Regions from separate parts of the Homo sapiens genome. Here region 2 is linked to region 1. The links are contacts of gene promoters, found by promoter capture Hi-C in blood cells and fetal thymus (Javierre and others, 2016). All regions are on one chromosome and are shown on one strand. Each heading gives the region's core, a stretch centred on a gene start or on the middle of the fragment in contact. The rest is flanking DNA. Distances are from core to core; before and after follow the strand shown.

Region 1 (2,700 bases), core at 1-2,500:
TAATTAAAGTGGATTTTGAAAAAATGAGCCAGTTTTTTTTAAAAAAACAGGAGATTCTAGTTAACCTAGTGGGCATAATAAGGAAGTATGCTCTGTTTTAACCTTTACAAGGAAAGAAACTTTGAAATAATCTGATTTTTGTTCTGTTTCTGCTTTCTTCAATCTTTTTCATTATCTTCAGTCCTGTAGCATTATCTTAGTGCTAGAGCAGAGCCTTGAAAGAATAGAACACAGATCAAGAACATTTTAATGTGGAAAAGGTTCACAACTGGATTGAGGAACACGGATAATGCTATAGGTGAGCAACATAAAGCTTCCAGGTATTTTAAGATGTGCAATTTTGAAGAGAATAGAGGGCACGAAGGATAATACAGTTTTGCCTGGACCCTCATCTCCATATGAGAGGAAAAATTTCTAATTAAAAATATGATACATCACAGAAAATTACATAATACCCAAAGTATATGCTAATTTTAAAAATCCTGCAGATGTTTATTCAAATATACAGTGTTATTTAGTGAAAGACAAATCCTAATGTTATTGTGTCCAACTCATTTTTGCTTTCTAAGAAAGGTGACACGGAAGTAAATGAAAAAGAATTATATGAGAACTTTTTAGATATGTGTTCTGGTAATCTAACAGTGACTAGCTCTATAACCTTGACCAAGTCACTTGCACTGACCGGAAGTTCCTTTCCCTTACCCACAAATTTAAGGGACCAAACTGGATGATCTAACGACATCTATGGCACTAAAAGTCACATGATTCTATTAAATCTGAGGCAGCGCCTCACATGTAGTGGACTCCCAAAATTATTTATTAAATGTATAACATCTTTAAGTGGTATCCCCTCACTGACAATCTGGAGCTATTAGCAGCCTTCAGTTTATTTATAAAATAAAGCTGTTTCCTCTTCTTACCGTTAAGACTCTTTTAAGGATTTGCAACGCTATCCCATCATTTCGCGGGTTACTAGAGTCCTGCATGTTTGGCTGTAGAGCAAGGGTGACGCGTAACTTCTGGACTTTGGTTCCATCTACATCTGCCGGATGCGGATGCCAGTCGCAACAGTAACGCCCCCTTCGGCCACCTGCACCACAGCACGCCATGCGGCCACACCCAAACCGGAAACCAGGACGCCCCTAGGGTTGACGGGAAGGCGCTGCCGGGCTCCTAGCTTCCCCAGGCCCGCCCCCTCTGATGACGTCTCCGCCCGCCCCTTGACCCCCCCACGGTCCCGCCCCTTCCTACCTTCCAGTAGCCGGCGGCGGTGTCTCAGGCGGCAATGGAAGGATCCGAGCCTGTGGCCGCCCATCAGGGGGAAGAGGCGTCCTGTTCTTCCTGGGGGACTGGCAGGTGAGAGGACGAGAAGGGCGAAGGTGAGGGGTCGCGGGTGGGACCCAGGCTCCGGGTTTCTGCTTCTTTCTTTCCGGCGGGCTGGGGGCGCCCGAGAGGCCGCGGGGCCGAGCAGAGCCGGCCCTGGGAGGCGAGGGGCGCGCGCGGAGTGGGTGTGGCGACGTGGGCTAGGGCCTCTGCTGTTGCCGGCTTTCCTGAGGGAAAAGTCCCCTTTCCGCACCTTTGAGGGCTTTCTCAGTTCTGGCTGGGATTCGGGATCCTCCTTCCTCCAAGTCACCAGACTTGGGGGGCTCCGGTCGAGAGCGAGTTCTGGTCTCGGTCACTTGGCGTGAGCTTCCCCGACTGGTGCCAAGCACCTTTCCTCCTTTCCGTAAAAAGAAAGCTAGGAGCGCCACTGTGCACCTCCACTGAGATCCTCTTTTGAAAACTATTACCAGAAGGAACTTGGTAAGAATGAATCAGTAGCAATCTGGACACCCTGAGGCCTTTGTTGACTTCGGAAGAAGGAAAAAAAAAAAGCCAGGAAAAAAAAATACACAAGTTACCCATTCTTATTTCCCACTTGGTTTTGAAGTTCTTCAGGTCTTTCCCGCCCCTGTAAAATTAGGGGGAAAATATTTGTGCTAGGCCTTTACCAATTTCTTGGTTAGTAGTTCCTCTTTCAATCATCTCATAATTAATAAAGCAAGTGGTTACATTCTATCCACCACTGTCAGAATACACCATGCCAAAGATAGAATTGATGGATGTATTATTTTCAGCTGATGTGAGACTTTGTAAACCTGTAGCCTTTTCGCCAGTTTCAGACTGAAGGGATGCTTTCAGTTTCATGGTGTTGTCTGCCATTGCCAACACTGCCAGAGTGGAGGGATATTATGTAATATAACCCGCGCCTTATTTGAAGCGTTTTTGATTGTCTTATAGATCATATTATTTTTACATATTTTTGAAACATTCCAGTGAGGCACAACTTTCTGAAAAGGGCCAGTCACGCCATTAAGTGGCAGAGCTAGTTAGACTGCAGCTGTTCTCGTTTTTATTCAGATTTACCCACCAGGCCTATTGCCCCCGCCATGCAAGGAAAACAGCAAGTGAAAGTGTACTAGGGATAAAATGATAGGAAAGTAGATAATAAAAAACTTTGGCCGGGCGCAGTGGCTCAAACGCTTGCAATCCCAGCGCTTTGGGAGGTCGAAGCAGGCGGGTCGCTTGAGCTCAGGAGTTCTTAGACTAGCCTGGGCAACATGGCGAAACCGCGTCTCTACAAAATACAAAAAAATTAGCTGGGCGTAGGTGATGCACGCCTGTAGTCCCAGCTACTCGGGAGGCTAAGATGAGAGGATC
Region 2 (2,700 bases), core at 170-2,669, 7.9 Mb before region 1:
TTCTAGGCCTCTTGCATGAAGGGGCCTTAAAATGTTATACGGTTGAATATGATTATAAAGTTGCAAAAGTAAAATAGTTTTGCGCTCTTGTTCTTAAGCTTCAGGCCCAACAAAACTGAATCTACCCCCATATAAAAGAAGTTCATCAGATTCTCTTATAGCCTATAGAGGTACCAAATGGGACAGGGCTTCTCGCAACTTGGACACAGCTAAGGACAGAGCTAATTGCTACACTAAGAGTCACATCTTGAATTGACCAAATAATTCTATTCTTTCCATAACTAGGCCTCAGGTCTGGTTCTCAATATTACAGGTTCAGGAACTAGATTTTAAGCAGTCTGACCAAGGTAATTAACCACTGGGAGATTAATGCAAACTAACCAAACTCACAAAAGACTATAAAAAGAATGTCTATTTCTTAATGTACAAGAAGGAATCAATACCTTAACATTAATGATTAATACCTTAATATTGACTAGGGTATATGGTAGACATTTGTCTATCCAGGACACTCTATTCCCTAAATCAAAGTAGTTTCGAGACCAAAATGATCATGAACATTTAGTTATCATGATTGAAAGTGTTATTTTACTGGCCTTATGGCCTCCTCGCTGCCTCAGATTCTTTGAAAATGGGGTAAGCTCTGTTCCTGTGTGATTTAAGCCTGTGCATGATTCTGACCTACCAGTCTTGCTCAGTCGTGGATTGAGCTGCATTTTTGCATTTAAGGCAAGTTTTATCGCAAGCCCTAACTCCACCCCATTTGGCTGCCATACGCGGGTGTTGTGCGTGTCCTCCAGATCCCCAGCCATCCCAGCGCTTTCCCATTCCACTCATGCCCTCTCTTCCCCTTCCTCCATCTCAGTGTTTTCCCTCACTTTCAATGGCCAGACTGGCCTTCCCAAGGTCCCTCCTAACGTCAGGTCTGTCATCACCTACCTTCTTCCACCTTGCCTCGCCTACTAATCATCACCTCCTAAACTGTCACCGTTATCTCCTACCTGGCTCACACTGGCCCCACCGCCCAGAACAGAAAGGAAGCATGGAATCCCGGTCAGGCCGCGCCTACGCGACTCAGGGCGCCCGGCGCCCGCCCCTGCCCCAGCGGCGATGCTATGAGGGAAACCGTATCGCATTTTGCATAGTCTTCGCAGTCCTACATAACCGCCACCTTTACCCTTCGCGTGGGCATCACAATCGCCTCCTCCCGCTGGGGAAGGCAGAAAGGCGCCTCCTGACGAGAACCAAGGCGTGTGGGGACGCAGGGCCTCTGCGTGTCAGGGAGCAGAACCTGGGCCGAGCCCTAGGTGAAGGGGCGGGGTGGTTGGCCCTGAGCCAATCATGGCTCGTGACGACTCGGCTCGGCCAATCAGAAGAAGGGAGGCCTGGCGCTCTCGGGGCGGGTGAGAAACCGCCCCCCCTTGCAGCTCCGCGGCCAACGCCTTCGCCCAGGGGTAGTTGGAGCGGTGCAGGTTCCCAGGCTCCAGGTACTGGGCGCCTTACGAGCTGGGAGGTGGTGCCTCTCACCCAGCTAATTGCTCTCTAGCCCTTGGCCTTCACAGGTGTTGGTGCCTGCCGTGAACGCATTCTGACCTGGGCCGTATCTGTCTCCCAAGACTTTGTGCCTATGGTTGGGGACAGAGTGAGGTCGTTGCCTTGACGACGACAGCATGCGGCCCGTGGTCCTCCTAAGTGTGAGCTTGCGGCGGACCGAGGCCCACCTGCCTCCCTGCCTGCTTCGCCCTGGACTCGTGACTGCGTCCGCAGAAGAAATCACAACAGCGCTGGAATTGCTAGTTTGCTAGGCAGCATCTTTTGGACCTGCGAACCATATGCATTTCACCTCAAATTTGTTTCCAAGTTGAAAACCTTTGGGTCTTTCTATGCGAACGGATTGAAGAAACGGTAAGTATAGTACGTTTTAAAGCTTCTATTATCTCGTTCTTTGATCTATAAAAGATTTCAATCTTTTTTTTTTTTTTTTTTTTTTTTTTTTTTTTTTTTTTTTGAGACGGAGTTTCACTCTTGTTGCCCAGGCTGGAGTGCAATGGCATGGTCTCGGCTCACCGCAACCTCTGCCTCCTGGGTTCAAGCGATTATCCTGCCTCAGCCTCCCAAGTAGCTGGGATTACAGGCATCACCACCACGCCCGGCTAAGTTTGTATTTTTAGTAGAGACAGGGTTTCTCCATGTTGGTTAGGCTGGTCTCGAACTCGCAACCTCAGGTGATCCGCCCGCCTCGGCCTCCCAAAGTGTTGGGATTACAGGCGTGAGCCACCGCTCCCGGCCCTTTAATCTGTCTTAAACAAAATAAAAAATTAGCATTCTCCAAATATTTTTATCAAAATTGTTGCTTTTAGAACCATCCAGAAATAACACCTTGCCCATTGGCCAGGTTTCTTTTTCGTTTGTATTACCTTTCCGTTCAAGAGTAGAAGGCATGAGAAGTTATAGTTTATGAGTAACTGTTTCAGGAAACAGGAGGCTTTGTAGGCTGTGATACTTTTAAAGTATTTGTGGACAGTGTCACTTGAAAAAGCAGGTGTGTTCAATGTGGTGTGTCCAGATATGCAATTGGTTGGGAGAATAAACTTGAAGCAGTCAACTTGCATTAATGTTAGCTTGGGATATGCTTCAGAACACCTCAGACATGCTTAAAGTCATTTTTTTTGGTTCACTTTGTGCTTTCAAATATTGAGG

What was found. Contacts are between HindIII fragments. The CHiCAGO score rates a contact against its expected background, and 5 or more counts as called.
Region 2: the fragment with the promoter of CDKL2 here is called in contact with the fragment with the promoter of UBA6 in region 1 in 1 of 17 cell types (fetal thymus); the score reaches 6.7 in fetal thymus.

What each region holds. Positions count from the first base shown.
Region 1 is chr4:67,699,705-67,702,404 of GRCh38, reverse strand. It overlaps UBA6 (ubiquitin like modifier activating enzyme 6), which reads left to right and starts at 1,250. Exons shown (of 33, transcript NM_018227.6): 1 at 1,250-1,356. The coding sequence starts at 1,286. It overlaps UBA6-DT (UBA6 divergent transcript), which reads right to left and starts at 1,127. Exons shown (of 2, transcript NR_015439.1): 1 at 921-1,127. RefSeq lists silencers at 1,157-1,226, 1,357-1,526. The HindIII fragment of the contact is 4,018 bases long and covers 316-2,700 here.
Region 2 is chr4:75,629,247-75,631,946 of GRCh38, reverse strand. It overlaps CDKL2 (cyclin dependent kinase like 2), which reads left to right and starts at 1,419. Exons shown (of 14, transcript NM_001330724.2): 1 at 1,419-1,905. The HindIII fragment of the contact is 1,829 bases long and covers 101-1,929 here.